Linked DNA regions of Homo sapiens: region 1 is linked to region 2. The links are contacts of gene promoters, found by promoter capture Hi-C in blood cells and fetal thymus (Javierre and others, 2016). All regions are on one chromosome and are shown on one strand. Each heading gives the region's core, a stretch centred on a gene start or on the middle of the fragment in contact. The rest is flanking DNA. Distances are from core to core; before and after follow the strand shown.

What was found. The method cuts DNA at HindIII sites, captures the fragments that hold promoters and counts their contacts. A CHiCAGO score of 5 or more calls a contact.
Region 1: a contact is called between a fragment that was not itself captured here and the fragment with the promoter of SEPHS2 in region 2, in 11 of 17 cell types (erythroblasts, megakaryocytes, non-activated CD4 T cells and 8 more). The highest score is 11.0, in erythroblasts.

The regions. Positions count from the first base shown.
Region 1 is chr16:30,516,978-30,522,202 of GRCh38, reverse strand. ITGAL (integrin subunit alpha L) reads right to left here. Exons shown (of 31, transcript NM_002209.3): 26 at 5,117-5,225; 27 at 4,498-4,554; 28 at 4,308-4,406; 29 at 3,484-3,579; 30 at 2,236-2,346; 31 at 1-711. The coding sequence ends at 538. Among named protein-coding and RNA genes, the nearest start is that of ZNF768, 7.0 kb to the left of the region's middle. The HindIII fragment of the contact is 740 bases long and covers 3,345-4,084 here.
Region 2 is chr16:30,441,695-30,447,356 of GRCh38, reverse strand. It overlaps SEPHS2 (selenophosphate synthetase 2), which reads left to right and starts at 1,483. Exons shown (of 1, transcript NM_012248.4): 1 at 1,483-3,726. The coding sequence starts at 1,630. The coding sequence ends at 2,976. RefSeq lists a silencer at 1,899-2,018 and enhancers at 1,345-2,291, 4,735-5,029. The HindIII fragment of the contact is 8,484 bases long and covers 1-4,962 here.

The DNA of each region.
Region 1 (5,225 bases), core at 2,465-4,964, 73 kb before region 2:
GGGTCTCATTTTGCAGGGTGCTGGAAGGCATGCCAAGGAATTTGGTCTTTGGCCAAGAACAAGGCGTGTGCCACAGTCACGTAGTGACACAGGTCACATTTGCTTTCTGCCAGCAGAAGAGACTGGACTCCAGTGCAGGGGAGTGTGCAAGGACAGGTTCTGGGGGGTGGAGGCATCTGTGGACATCCCAGGGCAGGGGTGAGGGCCAGAACATCCCTAGGTCCTGAGACTACAGTTTCTCCACATTTAGATCAGACATTCTCTTCCAAGGAAGGAAACCAAGAGAGGCTGGTGAACCGTCTGGTAATGACAAGCCCTCACTTTTGCAGCCCTCTTGGCTGGTCCCTCAGCAGGTCTTCCCTATGAGCCTGCAAAGGAGACAGGCAGGAATGAGTTCCATGTTCGAGATAGGGAAACTGAGGGCCAGGGAGAGGCAGTGACTCGCCCGAGGGCACACGGCAGAATGCAGGCAGAGGCAGAGTGGCCCTGGGCATCCTGAGTCCAGTTCTGGGCACTCTGCACCTCACAGGCCTGGACTCAGTCCTTGCCACCACCACTCTCAGAGTCCTTCTCATGGAGGGGCTTCAGGCAGCCGGGATCCCCAGCCTCTTGCCCAGATGCCAGCTGCTCAGAGTCTTCTGCAGGGATTCCATTCGGGACACCTCTGCCAGCCTCCATCTTCTCCTTCAGGTTCCGTTTGAAGAAACCAACCTGTACAAAGACAAAATTTGAACGAGCAAAGAATTCACTGAGCACTTTGGCCCCAAGAAAATGTGAGAACACTTTTTTTTTTTTTGAGATGGAGTCTCACTGTGTTGCCCAGGCTGGAGTGCAGTGGTGCGATCTCGGCTCACTGCAACCTCTGCCTCCCAGACTTAAGCAATTCTCTTGCCTCAGCCTCCTCAGTAGCTGGGATTACAGGCATCTGCCACCACGCCCGGCTAATTTTTGTATTTTTAGTAGAGACAGGGTTTCACCATGTTGGCCAGGCTGGTCTTGAACTCCTGACCTCAAGTGATCTGCCCTCCTTGGCCTCCCAAAGTGCTGGGATTACAGGCATGAGTCCCCGAGCCCAGCGAGAACACTTTATTTTATTTTATTTATTTTATTTTATTTTTGAGATGGAGTTTTGCTCTTGTTGCCCAGGCTGGAGTGCAATGGCACCATCTTGGCTCACCGCAAGCTCCGCCTCCCAGGTTCAAGAAATTCTCCTGCCTCAGCCTCCTGAGCAGCTGGGATTACAGGCATGCGCCACCATGCCCAGCTAATTTTGTATTTCTAGTAGAGACAGGGTTTCTCCATGCTGGTCAGGCTGGTCTCGAACTCGCGACCTCAGGTGATCCACCTGCCTCTGCCTCCCAAAGTGCTCGGATTACAGGTGTGAGCCACCGTACCCGGCCTTCATCTGTAATGTCTACTCAGCCTTCAAATCCCACCTCAAATGCCACCTCTCCTGGGAGGCCTGCCAGGCCCTCACAGCCTAAGTGAGGCTCCTGGGTTCTAGGCCCCAGGCCACACAGGCCCTTTGCAGCCCTCATTCTGCTTGCTTCTGCCTGTGTCCTCTCTTAGACTGTGAGCGCCACAATGGCAGGGAGCATGTTTGTGGCATGTGCCTCTGTGTCCCTGTGCCTGGGACAGTGCCCAGCAGCCAAAAGGACCTCCACATTTGGCATACTTCCTTTTCCTCTCCCAGGACGCCTCGTCCTGGCTCTGCCAGGGATGGGCTGAATGACCGTGGAAAAGTCTCTCTTGCTGTTTGTGTGTGTGTGAGACAAGGTCTTGCTCTGTCACCCAGGCTGGAGCGCAGTGGCATCATCATGGCTCACTGCAGCCTTGACCTCCTGAGCTCAAGGGATCCTCCCACCTCAACCTCCCGAGTAGCTGGGACTACAGTTGGGTAGCATCACGTCCCCCTAATTTTTAAAATTTTTTGTAGAGGCGGATGCTTTCCATGTTGCCCAGGCGGGTCTTGAACTCCCAGGCTCACGTGATCCACCTGCCTCGGCCTCCAAAGTGCTGGGATTACAGGTATGAGCCACTGCACCTGGCCCTTGCTTGTTCTTTGGACCTCAGTAGCCTTCTCTGTTGAAGGAGGGAGTAGGCTGAGGCCCCCTGGCTCTGAGGCCCCCTGGCTCTTATGCCCTCTGGCTTGGTATTCTCCTCCCTGGCTCCCACCAGATCCCCTTCCCCAGCCTGGCTGTCTCAGCAATGCCTGTGACCCCCGGAGGCACCCACCTTGTACAGCACTATGAAAATGAGCAGCAGCAGCAGCAGCCCCCCGATGCCGCTCAGCACGTAGAGGTAGAGCATCTGCTTCTCATACACCACGTCAACCTTCATGACAACCTGGGAGCAGGGGGAGGGGAGTGCCGGAAAATGCCTTTTCCACCCCTGAAAGTCCCTGTGAACCTGGTTCCATTCCCCATCTCCTCCTATCCGGACTGCATCACCCGCCTGGAGTCTCCAGCTGCAGACCCTCTCCCTTTAACACGTCACCTATTGCAGTCGCTGCCATGAGTTGGCCAACACACACCTTAGGCAGCCCTAGGCCTTCAATGGCTTCCCCGGAATCGCACGCAGCTCAGCATTCAAAGCCGTCCAGAATCCAGCTTTTGCTTACCTGTTAGATGCAGCTTCCCTCCTCCCCTCTGCCTGTTAGCCACACTGAACTTCCTGCTCTTCAAACCTGCCCTGCCAACACTCACCACAGAGGCCCCTGGCCTTGCCACTGCCTCTGCTTAGAGCGCTCTTTCTTCACTGTCTGACTTGGCTTGGTAACTCCTTTGCTAAGCTGCCATCAGATTGATTTTTTTTTTTTTTGAGATAAGGTCTCACTGTGTTGCCCAGGCTGGAGTGTAGTGGCATAATCATAGCTCACTGCAGCCTTGAACTCCTGTGCTCAAACGATCCTCCCATCTCAGCCTCCCGAGGCACTGAGTACAGGCGTGAACCACCACGCCTGCCTCTGACAGATCCTTTTGAGATGAAGTCTCACTCTGTCGCCCAGGTTGGAGTGCAATGGTGGGATCTCAGCTCACTGCCACCTCTGCCTCCCAGGTTCAAGTGATTCTCTCACCTCAGCCTCCCGAACAGCTGGGATTACAGGCGCCCACCATCATGCCCGGCTAATTTTTGTATTTTTGTAGAGATGGGGTTTCACCATGTTGGCCAGGCTGGTCTTGAACTCCTCACTTCATGTGATCTGCCTACCTTGACCTCCCAAAGTGCTAGGATTACAGGTGTGAGCTACTGCGCCCGGCCTCGATTGAACTTTACTCGACACATAAGTCTACTACATCTCAGGCAACTCTGGGGTTGTGTGCCCACCAAGGGGAGAAGAAGCTTCTCCCAGGCTGATGGCTCTGGCAGTGGGAAGTTCTGACTCGCACAGAGCCCAGGAGCTCTCCCACATCTAGGTCTGCCCTGGGGCTCCTGGGCTCCCTCTGTTGCCTGTTCCTGGGGCTTCCAAGGAGGTGGAGATACCTGGGCCAGGGAGGCGTTGCTGCCATAGAGGTGGAAATGCTTGCTGCTGTTGAAGGAGATGGAGAGGGAGCTGCAGAGGCTGAACATGGAAGAGGCCTGTGGGAGCGGGGAAAGGCGTCAGAACCCGGGAGAACGAGGACAGAACCCACTGGCTTTTGCCCCCACCACAACACAGTGGGGAGGGGCAGAGAAGGGGTTCCAGGGGGGTGCACCCATCTCTACACAACTCTCTATTGTGGCATTCTTTTCTTTCTATTTTTTTTTTTTTTTTGAGATGGAGTCTTGCTCTGTCACCCAGGCTGGAGTGCAGTGGTGCCATCTTGGCTCACTGCAACCTCTGCCTCCCGGGTTTAAGGGATTCTCATGCCTCAGCCTCTCAAGTAGCTGGGATTACAGGCATGTGCCACCACGCCCGGCTAAAGTTTTGTATTTTTAGTACAGACAGGGTTTCACCATGTTGGCCAGGCTGGTCTAGAACTCCCGACCTCAAGTGATCCACCCACCTAAGCCTCCCGAAGTGCTAGGATTATAGGCTTGAGCCCCGCCCCAGCCTCTACTGTGGCACCCTAATATGTCGCTCCCCATTGTTGTAAGGAAAGCTTTTCTATAAAGAACACACAGGAACTATCCATAGGCCCATGGAAACAGCATTGCAAATATCACAGAAATCATTGTTCTCTTTCACCTGTGACTGTGTAAATGGGATTTTTCATCAAGATGGAAAACAAAAATGGAGGCAGACTATCTGGTGGGAGCCCACCCACAACGGCCCCAGGCATTGGGGCCCCCACAGCAGCTCCACATCTCTTAGGAGCGGGGACTACCTCGATCTCTCCCACCAGCTCCAGAGTCCCGATCACTTGGACGAGGATCTCCTGCCTGAAGACAACAGGGCAGCGGAACAGGGCTCCGGGGAGACAAGGCTGACAAGGATGAGGAAAGCGGGGTCAGGGCGGCTTCATTCCGACCCGTGTACCGCCCAGCCCCACCGTCTCTCAGCTCACACGCCCATACCTCAGCTGCATCCGGGAGCCTCTCCAGATCCTCATAGTGGCAGGGCACGGGAGGCTCCTAGGAACAAGCGGCAGGTCTTCAGTTAGAGCCTCCCCAACCCAGATAAGACACTGGCATCCCAGCTTTCCCCTGCCCTGGCCCTGGCCCTGGGTGAGTTCAGACATCTCTGAGTCCAGCAGGACCTGAATTCATCCATCCTTACTCTCCATACACCCAGCCTTGCCCCCTTGATTTTTTTTTCTTTGTTAGAGACAGGGTCTTGTTCTGTCACCGAGGCTGGAGTGCAGTGGTGCCATCATAGCTCACTGCAGCCTCAAACTCCTAGGTTCAAGTGATCCTCCCGCCTCTGCCTCCTGAGTAGCTGAGACCACGGGCACGGGCCACCATGCATGCCTGGATAATTTTAAAATTTGTTTGTAGAGACTGGAGTTGTGCTATGTTGCCCATGCTGGTCTCAAAATCCTGGCCTCAATGGATTCTCCCACTTCAGCCTCCCAAAGTGCTGGGATTTGGGAGGCAGAGCCACCGCACCTGGCCAAGCCCTGCCCTCTGTACCCTCAAATGCACTCACCCCCAAGACCTGAGGAGGGTAGACCCTCCCTCTACAGGCAGCACTCACCATCTGCACGCTCCACTGGTGTGTGATGGGCCCCTCGCTGGGAGGCTGTGGCACCCCAACCACAGCCTCCAGGGTGGGTATGTTGTGGTCGTGGATGGAAGGCTGGATC
Region 2 (5,662 bases), core at 234-2,733:
GCTGGAGTGCAGTGGTGCAGTCTTGGCTCACTGCAACCTCTGCCTCCCAAGTTCAAGCAATTCTCCTGCCTCAGCCTCCCGAGTAGCTGGGATTATAGGCGCTCACCACCATGCCCGGCTAATTTTTGTATTTTTAGTAGAAACGGGGTTTCACCATATAGATCAAGCTGGCCTCGATCTCCCAACCTCGTGATCCACCCGCCTCGGCCTCCCAAAGTACTGGGATTACAGGTGTGAGCCACTGTGCCCGGCCCCGAAAATATCTATGTACAGTTTAAAGAACAACCATGTACCACGTACCCACCACCAGCCCAATGAACAGAATTAAACATAGCCCAGAAGCTCCCTATGTAGCCCTCCCTAGACATAGCCCCTATGCTGAGTCTTCTATTCATTTTCTTGTCTTTTAAAAAAGTTTTTATTGGCTGGGTGTGGTGGCTTATGCCTGTAATCCCAGCACTTTGGGAGGCCGAGGCCAGCAGATCACTTGAGGTCAGGAGTTTGAGACCAGCCTGGCCAACGTGGTGAAATCCCGTCTGTACTAAAAACGCAAAAATAAGCCGGGTGTGGTGGCGCACACCTGTAATCCCAGCTATTCAGGAGGCTGAAGCAGGAGAATCACTTGAACCTGGGAGGTGGAGTTTTTAATAGATATTGGCAAACTGCCCTTCATGGCTATATAAGATATATATATATATTTATTTACAGAGATATAGGAATTTTAGAATAGACCAGTCCTATGTAACCCACTCTGTTCCACAGATGGATGAGTCAACCGACGCGGAGAGTGACTCCACACAAAGCTGGTGGGAAACACCATTAGAATCCATGCAGGTGTCTGGACTTCCAGTCCTAAATCTCTCTTTTTGTGTGTGTCTGTGTGTGTGGGGGGGGTGTTTGTTTGTTTGTTATTGTTGTTTGTTTTAGAGACAGGTTCTTGCTCTGTCGCCCAGACTAGAGTGCAGTGGCGCGGACGCAGCTCACTGCAGCCTCGACCTCCTGAGTCCTAGAGTTCTTGAAGTTCCTGTTAACATTTCATTATATTGATGCTGCCTGCAGTTTGCTAACTTAATGGTAGTAGTTTAATTTCTAATTTCTCATGCTTTCTGTTTTTTCCCTTGGGCTATTTTGCCATCCTGGATCGATCATGTGCGCTGTCAAGTGACCTTTGGGACAATCCTGCCGATCATGAGGTTTGCCGAGTGACCAATCTTCCCTCGTCTACAATTTGCTGGACTTGGAAAAGTGACTGGAAGGGAGCAGAGTTCCGTCAGCCACTGCCAAGAAACCATTTAAATTACTAAGAGAGCGAAGGAAAGCACGTGACGTTCTGCAATCCCGTTGCAAGCGGTTTTGCAAGCCGGAGGTTGTTGCACCTTTTAGAGTCTAGGAAGCCCGCCTCTCGGTGGCGGAGTCGTCATTGGATGTTGCGGCTGTCAATCGCCAGGGCTATAAATAAGGGAGTCCGGCGGCTCCTCTATCAGGAAGATTGTGCATGCCGTGGGTCTGACGGCTTGAGTAGCGCTAGGGAGAATCCCTGCAGGTAATATTTGACTTTTGCTTCATATTAATCTGAGTGGAAAATAAAAGGGCCCTCTTCTCCTCTCGCTTCCCTGCCGGGCAGGCGCCATGGCGGAAGCCTCGGCGACGGGCGCCTGCGGAGAGGCGATGGCAGCGGCGGAAGGCTCCTCGGGCCCGGCGGGCTTGACTCTGGGCCGGAGCTTCTCGAACTACCGGCCCTTCGAGCCCCAGGCGTTGGGCCTCAGCCCGAGCTGGCGGCTGACGGGCTTCTCCGGCATGAAGGGCTGAGGCTGCAAGGTCCCGCAGGAGGCGCTGCTCAAACTCCTGGCGGGACTGACGCGGCCGGACGTGCGGCCCCCGCTGGGCCGGGGCCTGGTGGGTGGCCAGGAAGAGGCGTCCCAGGAAGCCGGCCTGCCGGCAGGAGCGGGCCCCAGCCCCACCTTTCCAGCCCTGGGCATCGGGATGGACTCCTGCGTCATCCCCCTGAGGCACGGGGGCCTGTCACTGGTGCAGACCACGGACTTCTTTTACCCCTTGGTAGAAGATCCCTACATGATGGGGCGCATAGCTTGTGCCAACGTGCTGAGTGACCTCTACGCCATGGGGATTACTGAGTGTGACAACATGTTGATGTTACTCAGCGTCAGCCAGAGTATGAGTGAGGAGGAACGCGAAAAGGTAACGCCACTCATGGTCAAAGGCTTTCGGGATGCGGCTGAGGAAGGAGGGACGGCAGTGACCGGTGGGCAAACGGTGGTCAACCCTTGGATTATAATCGGTGGAGTTGCCACTGTAGTATGCCAACCAAATGAGTTCATAATGCCGGACAGCGCCGTCGTTGGGGACGTGCTGGTGTTAACCAAACCGTTAGGAACCCAGGTTGCTGTCAATGCCCACCAATGGCTGGATAATCCTGAAAGATGGAATAAAGTAAAGATGGTGGTCTCCAGAGAAGAGGTGGAGCTGGCCTATCAGGAAGCCATGTTCAATATGGCTACCCTCAACAGAACTGCTGCAGGTTTAATGCACACATTTAATGCCCATGCGGCCACAGATATCACAGGCTTTGGCATTCTAGGACACTCCCAGAACCTTGCAAAACAACAAAGAAATGAAGTGTCCTTTGTTATTCATAATCTGCCAATAATTGCCAAGATGGCTGCCGTCAGCAAGGCCAGTGGACGGTTTGGGCTTCTTCAAGGAACCTCAGCTGAAACCTCTGGGGGATTACTGATTTGTCTGCCAAGAGAACAGGCGGCTCGCTTTTGTTCTGAAATCAAATCCTCCAAGTACGGAGAGGGTCACCAAGCGTGGATCGTTGGCATTGTGGAAAAGGGAAACCGAACGGCCCGGATCATTGACAAGCCGCGAGTTATTGAAGTCCTGCCTCGTGGGGCCACAGCTGCTGTTCTTGCTCCTGACAGTTCAAATGCCTCCTCTGAGCCTAGCTCGTGAGATGAAAGAACAGAAGTTGTTTGGACCTTAGAGCCATTGTCCACAATCACGGATGGTTCTCAAGAGTTGATTGTAAGAAATTTCCAAAGAAGGCTGCCTGCATAGTGGTTCCGGCTGCCCTTTCTAGGTGATTGGAATCAGCCCATCTAAAGCAGTCTTTATATGCATTCCGAGGCCAGAGTAACATTTTGAACTTTGGGGGGATATTTGTTCATCACTTGGGTAGAAGAGGAGCAAAAATACCTCTGTTTTCTCTTGCCAAAGTAAGATGAAGCTATTCCAGGTTGAGGGATTTTTCTTTGCACGGGGTTGATTAATTTCTGCACAGGGAGTGAGATTATTAAAGTAACACACACACAAAGTAAATTGCAAAATGAAAAAAATTAGAAGCAAATGAGTTTTGGACCAATATTGTTGATAAATCTAAATTGTTAAGAGAGATCTTATAATGCAACATCAAATTCTTTATTCAATTTTACTGAAGTACTGGCTCTTTCCTGCTCTGGACAAGAATTGAGCAACTTGTCTGATGACTGGGAAAGGAGGACCTGCAACCATCTGACTTGGTCTCTGTTAATGACGTCTCTCCCTCTAAACCCCATTAAGGACTGGGAGAGGCAGAGCAAGCCTCAGAGCCCAGGCCTCAGTGGTCATTAAGATGTTAAGTCTTTTGCGGCAGATTCCTGGTGATTTGATCAATAAAGAGTAATTTCTTGCTAAATAAATAAAAGAAACCTTGTTGAAAAACTATTCTGGCTAATGTTTGGTGGTTTGAAATTCAATACAGTCTTATAAAACGAACCAGCTTATACACTGAGTCTGGTATAGCAGAGAGAGAGTGTTTTCCCTGATGCTGGTGAATTGGGTAATTTAACACCCAGATTTAGGGTTGCACCTTCCCCCTGAAATGACAGAAAAGGACTCGAAGCAGGCATACGCCCCAAGGGTTAGAGAGTGGGCAGGAAATAGCAAAAGAAAGGTGTCAACAATTCTTGAAAGATGGAAAGGAGGTGGAAGAGGGGTAACTGACTTAAAGGAATCCTTCATAGTAGGGGAAGACAAGAAGCAAGAAGATGTGCTTGGAAGATGGGGTAAGACCTGGGGATAAAACATACTGTTTGAGAGTTTATACACGGTAATTCGATCTTTAGCGTTCTCCACACTCTTATTTCACACAGCCAGGTGACTGCCTCTCACCTACGCAGGTAGAGTTGGGAGCACCACACACAGCAGAGGATAGGGAGCCTAACTGAAAAAATAAAAATTTAAAATGAGACTGCCCAGCCCCCTTCCTCAATTAGATATTCAAAATACTGGCCAGGCCAGCACGGTGGCTCACGCCTGTAATCCCAGCACTTTGGGAGGCCGAGGCGGGCAGATCATGAGGTCAGGAGGTTGAGACCATCCTGGCTAACAAGATGAAACCCCATCTCTACTAAAAATACAAAAAATTAGCTGGGCGTGGTGGCGGGCGCCTGTAGTCCCAGCTACTGGGAAGGCTGAGGTGGGAGAATGGCGTGAACCTGGGAGGCAGAGCTTGCAGTGAGCCGAGATTGCACCACTGCACTCCAGTCCGGGCAGCAGAGCGAGACTCCATCTCAAAACAAACAAACAAAAAACTGGCCAGGCCAGGCCCAGTGGCTCACGCCTATAATCCCAGCACTTTGGGAGGCCGAGGTGGGCAGATCTCTTAAGCTCAGGAGTTTGAGTTCAGCCTGGCCAATATGGCAAAACTCCGTCTCTACTAAAACAAAAAAAAATACAAAAATACCCAGGTGTGATGGCGTGCCCCTGTAGTCCCAGCTACTCGGGAGGCTGAGGTGGGAGAACCTTGAACCCGCAAGGCAGAGGTTGCAGTGTGCAAACACTGCAGTCCAGCCTGGGCGACGGGAGTGAAACCCTGTCTCAAAAAAAATAAATAAAAGCCCAAAATCACTCTACCACAAGGCCTCCTAGGTGAAAGCCTTTATTGAATGATGTTAAGCTTTTTTTTTTTTTTTTCCGGACAAAGTCTCACTCTGTTGCCCAGGCTGGAGTGCAGTGGTTCGATCTCAGCTCACTGCAACCTCCGCCTCCCAGGTTCAAGCGATTCTTCTGCCTCAGCCTCCCGAGTAGCTGAGATTACAGGTGTGCACCACCACGCCCGGTGAATTTTGTGTTTTTAGTAGAAAATGTGGTTTCACCATGTTGGCCAGGCTGGTCTCCAACTCCTAACCTGAAGCAATTTACCCGCCTCAGCCTCCTGAAGTGCTGGGATTACAGGCATGAGCCACCGCGCCCAGCTAATGTTAAGCTTTTTAATGCCTCATTCTTAAATATGAGCAGTCAAGGATCACCAAGCATGTGAGGAGAGCCTCCAACTTAAACAGAAAAAGGAAACTCAGAGGGACAATACAGGGAGTAGGAAAAAAGATAAAAAATATCCGCAAAGCAATACTTAAGAGAACCAGCCACTTAGAATATAAAGATAAAGCTAAAACTTGAAATTTTTAATAGGGGGCTGGGTGCAGTGGCTCACATCTGTAATCCCAGCATTTTGGGAGGCCAAGGCGGGCGGATCACCTGAGGTCAGGAGTTCGAGACCAGCCTGGCCAACATGGTGAAACCCCCATCTTTAATAAAAATATAAAAATTAGACAGGCTTGATGGCATGAACCTGTAATCCCAGCTACTCAGGAGGCTGAGG